5 separate regions of the Homo sapiens genome follow, and all the other regions are linked to region 4. Evidence: promoter capture Hi-C in 16 types of primary human blood cells and fetal thymus (Javierre and others, 2016). All regions are on one chromosome and are shown on one strand. Each heading gives the region's core, a stretch centred on a gene start or on the middle of the fragment in contact. The rest is flanking DNA. Distances are from core to core; before and after follow the strand shown. Region 1 overlaps IRF2 (interferon regulatory factor 2). Region 2 has its middle 14 kb from the start of LINC01093. Region 3 overlaps IRF2 (interferon regulatory factor 2). Region 4 holds the start of CASP3 (caspase 3). Region 5 overlaps IRF2 (interferon regulatory factor 2).

Evidence for each region. The method cuts DNA at HindIII sites, captures the fragments that hold promoters and counts their contacts. A CHiCAGO score of 5 or more calls a contact.
Region 1: a contact is called between a fragment that was not itself captured here and the fragment with the promoter of CASP3 in region 4, in 6 of 17 cell types (naive CD4 T cells, activated CD4 T cells, naive CD8 T cells and 3 more). The highest score is 8.9, in naive CD4 T cells.
Region 2: a contact is called between a fragment that was not itself captured here and the fragment with the promoter of CASP3 in region 4, in 1 of 17 cell types (neutrophils). The highest score is 5.6, in neutrophils.
Region 3: a contact is called between a fragment that was not itself captured here and the fragment with the promoter of CASP3 in region 4, in 2 of 17 cell types (naive CD4 T cells and activated CD4 T cells). The highest score is 5.6, in naive CD4 T cells.
Region 5: a contact is called between a fragment that was not itself captured here and the fragment with the promoter of CASP3 in region 4, in 2 of 17 cell types (naive CD4 T cells and total CD8 T cells). The highest score is 6.5, in naive CD4 T cells.

The regions. Positions count from the first base shown.
Region 1 is chr4:184,416,785-184,419,484 of GRCh38, forward strand. It overlaps IRF2 (interferon regulatory factor 2), which reads right to left. Exons shown (of 9, transcript NM_002199.4): 3 at 2,685-2,700; 4 at 1,748-1,924; 5 at 1,383-1,429. Among named protein-coding and RNA genes, the nearest start is that of LINC02362, 36 kb to the left of the region's middle. RefSeq lists enhancers at 699-868, 1,059-1,358, 1,237-2,436. The HindIII fragment of the contact is 6,751 bases long and covers 1-2,700 here.
Region 2 is chr4:184,884,534-184,887,233 of GRCh38, forward strand. No RefSeq gene overlaps it. Among named protein-coding and RNA genes, the nearest start is that of LINC01093, 14 kb to the right of the region's middle. The HindIII fragment of the contact is 5,089 bases long and covers 1-2,700 here.
Region 3 is chr4:184,433,815-184,436,514 of GRCh38, forward strand. All of the region lies in intron 1 of IRF2 (interferon regulatory factor 2), which reads right to left. Among named protein-coding and RNA genes, the nearest start is that of IRF2, 39 kb to the right of the region's middle. The HindIII fragment of the contact is 1,357 bases long and covers 609-1,965 here.
Region 4 is chr4:184,648,008-184,650,707 of GRCh38, forward strand. It overlaps CASP3 (caspase 3), which reads right to left and starts at 1,440. Exons shown (of 8, transcript NM_004346.4): 1 at 1,388-1,440; 2 at 458-624. It overlaps PRIMPOL (primase and DNA directed polymerase), which reads left to right and starts at 1,731. Exons shown (of 14, transcript NM_152683.4): 1 at 1,731-1,901. RefSeq lists silencers at 948-1,157, 1,168-1,747. The HindIII fragment of the contact is 9,772 bases long and covers 1-2,700 here.
Region 5 is chr4:184,453,088-184,455,787 of GRCh38, forward strand. The region is part of intron 1 of IRF2 (interferon regulatory factor 2); the gene reads right to left. Among named protein-coding and RNA genes, the nearest start is that of IRF2, 20 kb to the right of the region's middle. RefSeq lists an enhancer at 419-478. The HindIII fragment of the contact is 2,041 bases long and covers 342-2,382 here.

The DNA.
Region 1 (2,700 bases), core at 157-2,656, 230 kb before region 4:
CCTGTATTCCCAGCACTTTGGGAGACTGAGGTGGGCGAATCACTTAAGGTCAGGAGTTCAAGACCAGCCTGTCCAACATGGTGAAACCCCATCTCTACTAAAAATACAAAAATTAGCTGGGCATGGTGGCACGTGTTTGTAGTCTCAGCTACTCGGGAGGTTGAGGCAGGAGAATCGCTTGAACCCAGGAGGCGGAGGTTGCAATGAGCCAAGATCGCGCCATTGCACTCCAGCCTGTGCCAATAGAGCAAAACTCCATCTCAGTTTAAAAAAAATTAAATAAATAAATTACTTCTGTAAGTCAAAAATGGTTGAAGGGCTGCAATTTCATGTTAGAAGTCAGGAAATGGGAGGGGCTATTGATGAAGCAAAACTGGCCAGGAGCTGATTAAGGTTAAAATTAATCTGAATGATGGCCTATGGGGTAAATTTTACTCAACTGTCTCCTTCCTATGTGCATAAAATCTTTCCACAATGAAAAGTTAAAACAAAATTAGGCCTTTAATACAGTACAATATTTAAATTTAGTTAAAAATAAAAACTAGTAAAAGTGAAACTGAAAGCATCACTGCAAAAACACCCTCCGCCTAAATTTCTTCATCTGCAAAGGGAGGCCAGGGAGCTCGACAATCTCTCTGAGATCCCTGGGTCTGTGACCGCAGTGTATGCTCTCTGCTCAGCCACTGAAGCTCGTCCCCAGTTTTGCAGGGCATATTCGGCTCTTCTCTTACTATTTAACAAGGGCCACCTAATCTATGCATAAAGATCCTCAGACTGTAGGGGAGTTCAGACGACACAGCCTAGTGAGAAGCTGACACACACATGCACATCCCATGGAAAACCCTTGTGGGGTGTGAGAGATGATTCTACAGTGGACAGAAGGCAGCCATTGAGAGCTGTTCTGATAGAGTGCTGACATTGACCACTCTGTCCCCCACCAAAGGGCCTGTGACGGAATGTCTGTAACATAGAGTTCATACATTGTATAGAGGTCTATAACATTTAATACATATTAAAGTATACTTAATAGCCTGAAAATATACTTAATAGTATGAGAATAAGCTGTTGTGGAGTTTAGCTGGCACAAAATGACCACTGGCAACGGCTGTGGTGGCCAGATGGAGGCCTCAGCCTGCCGAGCACAGTGAGAATCTGTGACTTCATTCATAAATTTCCCAGAGAAACGGGATGAGGCAGGGCCCTGTGTACCTCCATGTCTGCAAGTGGATACATGCTGAAGAGCAAACATGTAAAGCACAGAAGACACAAGCAAAGGAAGAAAGAGGACACACTGAGGTCCTGTGACTCATCTTTACAAGGCAGAATATGAGTCATTAATAGGATCCCAACTTTGGCTTTCTCTCTGAATCACCCAAGATTACCTTGATGTGCTTAACTTTGTCTTCTTTTTCTGTCTTTGGTTTCTTTCCTGTGGCAACAAAAATGTAGTTTTGGATTAATTCACGAAGGGCCTCCAGAGAAACATTTCCCTCAAATTAAATTCTTTCTGAAACTCTCAATGAACCTGTTGCTTTAATCTGTACATGGTCAAAATTCCACATGTATCTTTCACTGCCTCTGGTGAATCGAAAGTCTTGTTTCCAAGCCAGGTAGGGGCGGAATGATCCCCTACAGCATGAACAGGCTATTCTACCTGCAAACTGACTGCAGATGTAGAAATGAAGAGATCACGAAGGCACGATGACACAAATTGATTTACCTTATTTTAGTCTGTAAATGCCTTTACCTTTCTTAGAAGGCCGTTCTGATAGGGGCAGCATTCGGTAGACCCTGAAGGCATTATTTCCTTTCTTTATGCTTTTATCCTTGACTTCTTCAATATCAGGCAAGGAATTCATGGCGCATCTGAAATTCGCCTTCCATGTTTTGGGATCAGGTTTATCTACTCCTGGTTGATGCTTTCCTAACAAAAGAGACAAAGATTAAGAAAAAGAGAGAAAACATTAGATACAGAGGAAGGAATTTCTGGAAACACAGTATTGCTGGTCAGGCAGTATAAGGAAACCTTTTCACTCCATGCTATACCTCCAGTGACCAATCGTCCTGGTGTACCTGGGGGTGAGAAAGTTCTTGGGATGTGGGAATTTTGTTTTTAAAACCTGAACAGTTCCAGTCAAACTGGGACAAGTTGGTCACCCTGGTTCTACTGAACAGCTTGAGGAAACTATAAATGCTGGAAGAATGGAGCATCAGCGTAAGAAAAATATAGAAGACTGAGAGGCTGCAAAGTCAACAGGCAGAGGGAAGCTGAGTGCCTCTTTTTCATCTGACGCTCCAACAAAGTCCATTCCTGTAAACAGCTCCCTACGTAAAGGTTGTAATAAATACAGGTATTTCTGACTACCTTTTTGGGGGGGAGATAAATTTGACCAAAGTTTATAGCATCAGAACAACTGAGTTTCTATTCCCCGGTAACACCTAGGGAACTTCTTAGAATACCACATTTATAGGAAATTGAAGGACTAAGAGTGTATGGGATGAGGGGAGCATTACTTCTGAGGGCTGCAGTTTGTACCCCATGTGTCCTGGATGTGCCTAGGGACAAGTCACAGGTTTTTCAGAGCCATCTTCATGAGGTCATAAGCCAGGCTATTTTATGTGTAATAAAAACAAAACTAAGCAAGAGTGCCTTCCTCTATAAACGCCGCAGGGAGTTTTAGTACCTGTATGGATTGCCCA
Region 2 (2,700 bases), core at 192-2,691, 240 kb after region 4:
CAGTGCCCTTGCCCCCGTCTCCTGGCCTTAGCCCCTCTCATTGGCTCTCTCAAGGCTGCTCACCTCCCGCTTGGGTCCGTCTCGCCCCCTGGCCTGATCAGTCAAGCAGAAATGACTCCATCTGGAATTGGGCCTGGATTCTCAGCACTGCTCAGAGTTTCCTGTAACTGCTACCAAAGGCCTTAACCTTGCAGGTTTGGAATCCAGCATCTTAACCTTAATCTTGTACCTATTCATGGTACATACTAATAATTATTCCTTGGGTAATTAGCACCTAATAAAACTTTCTTGAACAAATATAGTTGTGAGACAGAGTAGCAAATGTAAGAAGGTGCATTTTCTCAATTTGCTGGCCAGCATAATTTCACAAAGCCCCTGACACTGTGGCAAGTGTAGCTCTCCGGAGGGATGCTTTGAAGACATGGCAGGGTAGAGCACACGGCTCCCACATCTCTTGCCTGGGTCGCTGTATTCCAGAAAAGGTAAGTGACCCTGGTCTTTGCCCTTTCCTAGACGTAAGACAACATCTGGTGTGGTTAATGATTATGCCTCTGTGACCTATAATCAGATGTACTCTTACATCCTAACCTTGATGTATTTCTGCTTTACTGTAACTTCTGAACAAGTTTGATGTGATTTTGCATAAACTATGAACTAAAACACTGCTTTGGAGGAGTCTGACCTCTCTGAAAGACTCCTCCCAGGCTGTAGTTCTCAGTCCGTAGTCCTGAGTCAGACTTCTGAATAAAACTAACTTTAATTCTTTAAAAGCTCGATTTTCTTTTCTTCAGTCAACATAATACCAGAGCCCCAACACTTCCTTTGAACTAAGCAGAAGCATGATTTGATCAGAAAGAACTTTTGAAAGGTACTTACTCCAACTTTCTTGCAACACACAATCTTCTCAATAAATATTTATTGAATAAATGAACATCTCAGTACATTTGTGAATAAATAGGACACAGAAGTTTTTCCTACCAAATACATAAAGTTTCAGAGCGTGCACTGACACTTTGCATAATGGGGTACCTCATACATTTGGAAGCAGCCAACCCTGCTGCTGCACCTTTTTATTCTTTCAGGCTCTTTCTTAGGTTGGGCCAGCATGTTCTTGCTGATGAATGGCTTTTGAGGACACCTGCTCCTTCTTCTCTAGTAAAGCACTTCAGATATAGAGAGACAGTTGCCGTAGCCCCGTCTCCTCTTTTCCAAACCAGGATCTTGCTCTTGACTCATGATGTGTTGCAGCCCTTCATTTCCTGGCGGATGATATCCCTATCCATATATGGTCCTCAGAGGCAAACACAACTCCAGTGAGTTCTGCCCAGCACAAAGCCCATGGTGTCATTCGTGATCTTAAGTAGCTACCATGTTCATGGACAGGCAGCCTATGATTCTGATAGTTTTTTTAGTAACCAACATTATACAGTTGGCACACAAAAGTAATCAGTCAACTCCAACATCTTTTTAAAAAATCAACTTTTCTCCCTTGATTAAAAAGCAATACATTGTGACTATTGAAGGCTTCGTGGAAAATACAGTGAAAGTAAGGTCACTTATTATCAATCTGTTTGCTAATCCTGAGTTAATCACAGTTAACAGTTTCTTATATTTTCCTACCATCTTTTTCTGCGTATGTATTTTCATATACTTAGTATCCTAAAGTGTATGCCACTTCGCATCTTGGTTTTGTTTTGCCTTTACTACCTTCTAAAATGATTTTCACATAGATTGGCCCCACACTCAGTCAGAATCTCTGGGAAAGGATCCTAGTCATGTGATTTTTCTTTTTTCTTTAATTTTTTTTTAAATTCCCGGGGAAATTAAACTAAATTAGAAGGCATGAATATTTTTAAAATATGTTTCCCTGTTGATTCTAGTGCACATCCAGGGGCGAAAATCATTAACAGAATCTTACGGGCATTTATTTGGTTTTGTTTATCATCTATTTAGTTAGCATTTGCTATTTGGTTGTAAGTATTTTTCCCGCATTTGCAGATCTGATCAGCATGCTTTCTGTGCATTACTCATTAAGTTGTCAGTTTGACCATGGCCAAAAACAGAGACCTAATGATCTCGCTCTGGCTAGCACACTGATATTAATCAACTCTGAGGAAATACTCATTCAGCAAGCTATGTTCTTAATTAGTTTTTCACCTCCCTCCTACAACAAGATCATGTGCAACTCTATAATATAGTATTTTCTACAGAAAAAAAGGAGTTAGTTGAATATGACTTGACCATGATCATTTCAGTGCCTGGACAGTCAGCAGAATGCTAGCCTCTCTCTCTTGCTCTAAGAGAGTAAATGTGGGATTAGACACAGGTGAGCTATTGCTAGAAGAACCAGCCACCAAGCTCCTGAGGGACAGTGGGGTTGGTCACCAGCCTCAGTCCACACCTGCCTAATCAAGCTGGGTATTCATTCCTCGACTCAGCCAAGAATATCTGAATAGCCAAGAAAGAGGAAAGGGGTGGTGGATGTAAATTATAGGAGAATAATTCTCTGCAATTCTTTCAATGCACTTGCAAAGATACAATTTCATTTACTTCTTATTCCTCTCTGGGATGTGTATTCCCCATGTTATAGATGAGGACATTGCCCAGAGCAGTGGGATAGCAGAGTCAACCAGGTTTTCTGACTGCAAGACTAGTATTCCTCCCCTCTCTATCTTGCCTCCCATACAAGTCTCAATCTCC
Region 3 (2,700 bases), core at 37-2,536, 210 kb before region 4:
TTGCCTCGCGACACGGTACAAAGTTTGCCATTTGACACAGGTTTCTCACGACTAGCCGAGGGTGAGCGTACATCTTTACTTCTGTGAAAAACAGCAAAGGCAGAATCTACCTCAAGCCTAGCACCAGAAACGGATCATTTAGTTGGACACTATAAACAGATTAATTATGTTTCCGGAGATTAAAAGACTGAGATGACAGGCACAGAGGGTCAGAGGACTGAGGACTGGAAAGAAAGATGCTTACTCGGTATGTATCGTCTAGCTTCCATTATCGAAAGTCAAGGTGACACGCTGGTCTTTCTGTAAGGCAAGCCTCCCACAGGCGCTAACAGTCAGGCCACGTGAACCTCGAACAGAGTTAGAGAAGGCAGGTAGCTCAGTGGAGATGACACAGAGCGGCTATGTTTGTCTAAGAACCAAAATGCACAGAAATCAGGACATTGTGTCGCGACCTTGACTCTGCCATTGCTGGTGTGTGTCCTTGGGCTAATCCCTCCATCTTCCCGGCCCACACTTTGATCATCTAGAAAAATGGGACGTTTTAAACAGATGATTCCTGGGGTTATCCATGATACGATGAATCATAATCTGATGTTTTTTTTTCTGTAAGCTTCTCTTCTTGCACATCAGGTTGTTTTTAGAAGTAAAATGCTAAAATTTTATGGTTCTGCAAACCTAATATATGAGCAACCTGTACTTCAAAGTAAGTAAAAGAGTTGAAGCATCTACCCTGGAGCCTGACGAAAGGCACGTTGTAAAATCATCTACCTTTACACCTTTGAGATTTGAGGCTGGGACTGGCTTCAAAACTGTGGCATCTGGCCATAAGTCAATTCAGCCCATGGTGGGTACTGAGAATATCACTGGTGCCAAGCCTGCTATATAAGGCATGCAAGCTATTCATTGTGATTCGTAAGTCACGAATGATCCCCCATGAAGTTGACAGTACTATCCATGATTAGTGCTATTAACAGTGAGGTTGAATTTTCACCCAAATAACTGAATTTTGGTTCTTGGAATAGTAAGAGCAACGGTTACCATTTACAGAGCACCTACTATGTGCTGGGCATTAAAACTAGGGTTTTCTTGCTAGGTGTGGTGGGACACACCTGTCTTTTCAGCTCCTTGGGAGGCTGAGGTGGGACAATCACTTGAAGCCAGGAGTTCGAGGCTGCAGTGAGCCATGATCACACCACTGCATTCCAGCCTGGGTGGCAGAAAGACAGCCCCTCTCTAAAAATAGAAAATAAAAAACCTAGGGTTTTCTACAAGTTTTGCCATTTAACCCTTACAACCCTAGGACATAGGGACTTTATTATCCTTTATTACCTGCTAGTAAGTGGAGAGCCAAGACTCTCATTTAAATTCAGGCCTATCTAACGTGAAACACCCAGGCTTATCCACTCTAACCTCTGCCTTCATCGTACTTTAGAAAGCACTGAGTTATGAAGACCTCTTAATTGTTCTACTTACTGAGACTTTCCAAACTCCTCTCCGTCTTGCAAACCACTGACAGTCATCTTCCTAAAATACCATTTAATCATGTTAATTCTCTGTTCCAGAGACTTCTAAATGTGCCTGCTGGATTTAAGGTAATAAATTCCTTAGCTGAGAGGGGGGTGGTGCTTCTGGTAATGGTACAGTAGGTAATTCAGACCTGACTCCCAGGCTGAATAACTAAGAAACATGGACAAAATATATTTTTAAAATCCATTTAAATGCATCAGAGAGCTAACAAGGTAGTTAAAAATTAGGGGGGCAAGATCTAGGAGAAAAAGAAACCCAGGAAGGTGAACCTGACATTTAGGGCTGCTGTCGTCCTAGCGCAGGGACAGCTGCTCCTTTCTGAAGAGGAGGCTGTGGGGCTTTGAAAGCAGAGCTTTTGACACACTCAGGTGACTGAGGAGACAAAAATTGAACATCAGGATGCAGCTAGGAAAAGGGGTTCCTGGAAACACCCTCACAAGCTTTGTAAGTAATACAACTAAGTAGAAATAAACTAATATCAAAGGCTGAAGCCCAGCTTTGAATCATCTCAATCCCTGATCTAATGAAAATGACCTGGAACTACCAAAAGTAAATAGAAATCAGATCTTGAGGAACATAACATTACCCTAGGATTCATATTATCTCTGGAGCTTTTCTTTTTTCTTTTTCTTTTTCTTTTTTCTTTTTTTTTTTGAGACAGAGTCTCGCTCTGTCGTTGGGCTGGAGTGCAGTGGCTCGAACTCGACTCACTGCAACCTCTGCCTCCCAGGTTCAAGCAATTCTCCTGCCTCAGCCTCCGGAGTAGCTGGGACTACAGGTGCCCACCACCATGCCCAGCTAATTTTTGTATTCTCAGTAGAGACAGGGTTTCATCATGTTGGCCAGGATGATCTCAATCTCTTGACCTCGTGATCCGCCCACTTTGGCCTCCCAAAGTGCTGGGATTACAGGCGTGAGCCACTGCGCCCGGCCATGGAACGCCTTTTCTTATTACCCAGTCACCCAATGGATCAGCAAAAATTCATTAAACACACATTGTTACAAGGAACTGTGCTGAGTGCTGTGGGGGATTCAAAGACGGTAAGACATGATCACTACCCTCAAGGAACAAATAAGTTAACTGAGGATGTGAGAGATAAATCACATAAAGCTAACTAATAATCCTATAATTATAATAATAAAAGACTATGCAATAAAGATCAGAAGGTAGTG
Region 4 (2,700 bases), core at 190-2,689:
ATCAAATGTGATGGCGGGAGAAAGGGAGTGCAGAGGTGTTGCAGGCAGACACTAGGTATGAAGGTCAGCATTGCCGTGCAGAAATCGAACCGGTGCTAAAGATAAGGAGGGGTGGGGGCACTCAGGACCCAACACACGCAGGGGTTTGTTAGCCATATTAAGTGCTGGGTTTAACCTAAGGGCAAAGGACGAGCTTTCTAGACTTTCATTTCATAAAGATCCCTCTGCCTGTGCTGTAAAAAGTGGACTGCAAAGGAGCAGGCGGGTCTGGAAGTGGAGAGACCAGGGAAGAGGCTGCTGTGGTCAGACGGCTGAAATCAGAGATAGAGAGACGCGGACAGATCTGGCAGACATTTACAAGGTCGACAAGGCTTGGCGACTAAGCAGGAAAAGAAGTGGGTGGGCGAGAGGGGGCTGCGAACGATGTTTTCCGGTTTCCTGCTTGGGTGCCACTTACTGAGAATGGGGGAAGAGGCAGGTGCAGGGCACACCCACCGAAAACCAGAGCGCCGAGTGTGAGCAGGGCTCGCTAACTCCTCACGGCCTGGGATTTCAAGGCGACGCCAACCAGCTGTGGCCACGGATACACAGCCACAGGTATGAGCTGCGAGCACTCACGAAACTCTGCAGGGCCGAAAAGGAATTGGAGTTTAAACCCTGCAACTATCTCTCTGGAAGAGCTAAACCACATTGTCAACCCGGGATAATCCAGGCCCCAGGCATGGAAGGCAGCAGAGACGGAAGCCTCGTCCAAAATTGGAAGGATCAGCCCCCAGGGCGAGTATCTCACAGTCAGCACCCGGCCGCCCCAGCCCTCGCAGCACCGCTTCCCGGGGCCACTCCTCCGCCGGCGGTAGCGCCGTCCGTTTCCCAGCTTGCCGCTGCCTTCCGCCGCCTGACCCGGCCTTCCGGCACTCGGCCGGCCGCCAGGTCTCCCGCCCTCGGAGCTCGGTGCCCCGTGCCCGACCTCCCGGCCCCGGGCTCGGTTCCCCTGGCCAGGCCTCCCGCTGCCTGGCCTCCCCGGCCCGGCCTCGCGCTGCCCGGCCTCCCCGGTCCCAGCCCAGCCTCCCGCCCCCGGGCCAGGTCTCCCCTCCGATGACCTGAGGCCTTTCCTTAGGTTACCCCCAGGTCCCTCTCCCTAAATCAAAAGCCTTAACCCGCTGCCTGGCTTCCCCGGCCCCGGCCCAGGCTCCCGCCTCCGGGCCAAGTCTCTCGCTCCGCGGGCTTCACTGCTCGCCCCCGCCCGGGCGAGGTGGCAAAACAAACACTCCGCCTTCCAGACCGGGCAGGTACCCGGGCGGGCGCAGGGCCTGGGAGAACGCAGGGAGCGGGGGCAGGGCTGACGGCCCGGAGCGAGGGCGGCAGTCACCGCACAGCCTCCTCATACCTTCTACAACCGCCTCACAATAGCACCCATCCGCTAGGAGCCGCGTCTGCACTGCTTCCGCGGCCCGCCGCCGGGAGATGTGCTCCAGCGCCAGCCCCGCCTCCCGCCCGCCCCTGTCGGCCCCTCGCGCCGCCTCCGCTGCGGCCCGTCCCCTAGCTCCCGCCCGCCCGAGAACCCAGCCCCAGGCTGGGCCCCAGGAGGCGCCCGCCCACCGCAGCGCGCCCCGCCCCCGCGCCCCGCGTCCTCACGCCCTGGTCCCGCCCTCGCGTCCCGCGCCAGTCCTCCCGCTTTGGTCCCGCCCTGAGGCTCGGCCCGGCTCCCCCGCCCCGGATTTGAAATCTAGGTCTTCCTGAGAGTCCGCGGGCTTCCGCTCCCAGCGCGGGATTCTGGAGGGAAATTGAGGGAGACTTGGAAACCGCGCCAGGCCCAACGGGTACCTAGAAGGGAGACAAAGCCAGGCCTGCTGCCCAGTTTGAGCTCTGGGAAGAAGAGGAGCAGGCCGGGACGCCCACCGGTAATTTCTGTCTCCTCTGCGATGACCTGAGGCCTTTCTTTGGGTTACCCTCAGGTCTCTCTCCCTAAATCAAAAGCCTTAACCTCCTGTCATCAGGGTGCCAGGCTAGAAATAACCAGGTCCACGCATGCTGTGTTTTCCACCATGTCAGGCTGCTGTGGACGCTCTTTCGATCACAAAAGCCACGAGCTGCGTGGAGTTCCCAAGGAGGCAGTTCTCAGCACTTGCTGGTCACTGGGTAGTCAGAGCCTGACACACAGGCTCAAGCCGCTCACGCATCATAGTAGTGTACTTAATCCACATATAAATGTTACAAGTTAAGCATCCCACAACAAAGTAGCATTTAACATCATGAGGAAAAAGAGATGGGGCAAAGAGATTAACGAACCAATCCAGAGGGAGTGAAGAAGAGGAAAAGAAGCCTGGTTTGGGCCGAGAGGTCCTTCTGCAAAGACGGCGTCAATTAAGCCGGCTGTTGGGAGCTGCCGAAGGCCCCATCTTTTATAGTCACAGAGTCCTGTGGTGAGAACTGGTAATGGAAGAGAGTGCTTGTTTGTGTCCTTACCTGGCTGGATGCGGACTATTTTTTTATTTGTTTATTAAAGTATAGTATGCTTGTTGGCAAATGCCTTATGAAATGTAAAAATGGGGTCTTCTCCTAAGATGGAGTTATTAATGGTTACGTCAATGGTGTGCTATATACACTGCCCTACCGATCCCCTTCCTATTTTGGGTCGTGAACTCATTTCAGACCCTGAAGCAAACTGTGAATCATTTTCGCAGAAGAATTCACCAACAC
Region 5 (2,700 bases), core at 112-2,611, 190 kb before region 4:
TAATATTCTTTTCTGTAAAAAACAGACAACATGAGAAAACTGTGAATTGCAGATAAATTACCTTCCAGATACATTTAAATTATGAAAATCTAAGAGTATTTTTTACTCCATCATTTTTTTAAAGAGCATTTTCTAGAAAAATTTATGCAAGGCCATTAAGACCTAAAAGGGTAGACTGACTTTTAAAAGTATTTTATAAATTGAAACTCATGCTGGGACCCTTAGGTGTGTTTGGCCCTGGGTCGCAGCATCTAGATGGCATCAGCCTCTGCAATTCAGCAAAGCAAGAATCATGCACAGATTTCAAAGCATATGGACTCGAGCACATACTGCATTTTCAAAGCTTCTTTCCATATGGAAAACGGGAAAAGAAGTGATCCTATATTTCCCTTAATCAGCACGTCCTCTGAGCACTGCCTTTGCAGTACAGGAGAAGTAACATGACCTCGAGAAGGCACAGCTCCTCCTCCTCAGAGTGCAGTAGGAAGTTCCTTTAAGACTGTGTCAGCCTGCAGTATGCAAGCCGGAAAAGACCTCTCAGTCCTCTGATGCAGACACTGGAGACGTAACAGTATAGAGAACAAGTTCAATAAGAGGAGGCACGTGGGAAAAGGGTAGACATCAGAGTGGATAACTGAGCCATGCTGGCTTGAGGAGGAGGAGCGTGGCAGAAACGGCAGGACCTGAATTACCTGAGCTGTTTGTGTCACCCAGTCACCTTTGACTTCATTTTTGAGCTCCACAGACCTCAAAAGGTGTGTTTTGCCCCTTCAGGAACACAGAAAAGACAAGGGGACAAGAGAGAGGAGATGTCAATGTGGTCAGTATTTGTGAAAAGTCAAATAACAGAAACTCAAAGAGCCAGCATACTGGAACTGGAACCTAAGAAAACCTATTTGCATAGAGCAACAAAATTGCTGCTTTCTGACTTCAATCACATCACTAGCAGACTACCTTGAAAACCAACGCCTTCCCAAAAACCAGTTGCCTGAAAATAACCTGTTCTGAAAGGTTGATTTGAAGGGCACTATCTTTTCCCCTGGATGAGAGTAAATGATTTCCTCCCACACTCCACATCCACAGGCTGGCCCTCAGGATCTGCTTCTTGCTGCCACTTTTCCTTTGAGGATTTCCTTTAAGCTGTCCCCTCTGCCAGGGAGCTCTCCATAAAGGTTACCAGCTATTCTTGGTGTTATTATTATTAATTATTATGGAGACATCCAATTTAACTCTTTATGTTCAAATCTGGTCAAGCTCCAGCACACAAACTATAAACTTACGCACTACAGTTTCCGCTAGTTTGATTCTATTCCTGGGATAAACCATCCCAATTACCAATGAATTCCAACTGGAAAAAGAGCCAAAATTGCTACCACTCTAAGTACAGGAATACCTCCGAAGCAAGAATCCATGTCTCCTCTGCAAGCTGCAGAACTGTCTTCAAATATTTTTGGAAGATACCTACTGCCTCTCACCAGTTTCCGAATGGTAGCCAGAGGTGGGAGGGTCGGATCTGGCATCCATTGGATGGTCACTATTTCCCCTCTCTGCCAACCCCTCCCAGGACCACAATGATTTCTTTTCTTTCCCTCTCCTTGTTAAAGCATAATATGGTAGTGGGAGCTCAGATTTGGCGTCAAGCACACCTGAACTGGAACCTCACCACTCACAACCTTCAACTTCGCCAAGCCATAGTTTCCTCATCACTAAACAGAGATCTTAATAGCAACTTAGCAGAGCTACCGTGAGAAGAAACAGATAAAGGCTAGTTTATGTTAGGAGGAAAAGTATGAGGTGAGATTTCCTTGGTCTCCCCTAAGACTTCCCCAAAGAAATTCCAAACAGTAGGGCCCGTGCTCCACCTAACTGCAGTGACTAAGTCAGTGTTCCACAAGGAGCAAGACGATGTCCAGGGTCCACCTTCTGTAATAGAAGCATATTCTCCACCCTGCACATTCTTGGCCAGATTAATCTCCCCAAATGGCTCCTGACCTTGCAGAAAATCCTTCCATGGTTCCACAACGCCCATTGAATAAAATCTGGACTCCTGGCCACCATAATTCATCCCCATCCCACCTTTCTAACCTCTTGTTCCCACTGATTCCCTCCACCTTCTTCTTCTAACCTCTTATCCCACTGATTCCTTTCTTCTTCCTCCCCTCCCCTCCCCCTTCCCTCCCTCTCCCTCCCCTCCCCCTCCCTTCCTTCTTCTTCTTTTTTTTTTTTTTTTTTTTTTTGTAGAGAAAGGCGTCTCCCCATGTTGCCCAGGCTGGTCTCAACCTCCTGGCCTCAAGTGATCCTCCCATCTCAGCCTCCCAAAGCGCTGGGATTACAGGCATGAGCCACCGCACTCAGCCTCCTTCCACCTTCTGATGCAACCAAAGCTTACAGCTTCAGGTACTTGGCAACGGGCTTATCTCTGTATAAAGTCCTGTGAGGAGGAGTCCCATCTCACTCATCCCAAAATACCGAGCACAGTAGCTTGCACATAATGACATGTAGTAATCACTCATTGATAAGAAAGTGGATGAATCCCTCCTGGAAAACTCACTGAGGGCAAGGGCTGAGGAGGATAAGGCGGATGATATTAACTATACGTTGTGATGGATAAACTTATGAACAAATGATAAGCAAAGGAAATAAAATGACTACAAAAAGCATGCAACCTAAAAAAAAATTTTACTATTTACATGCCATTTT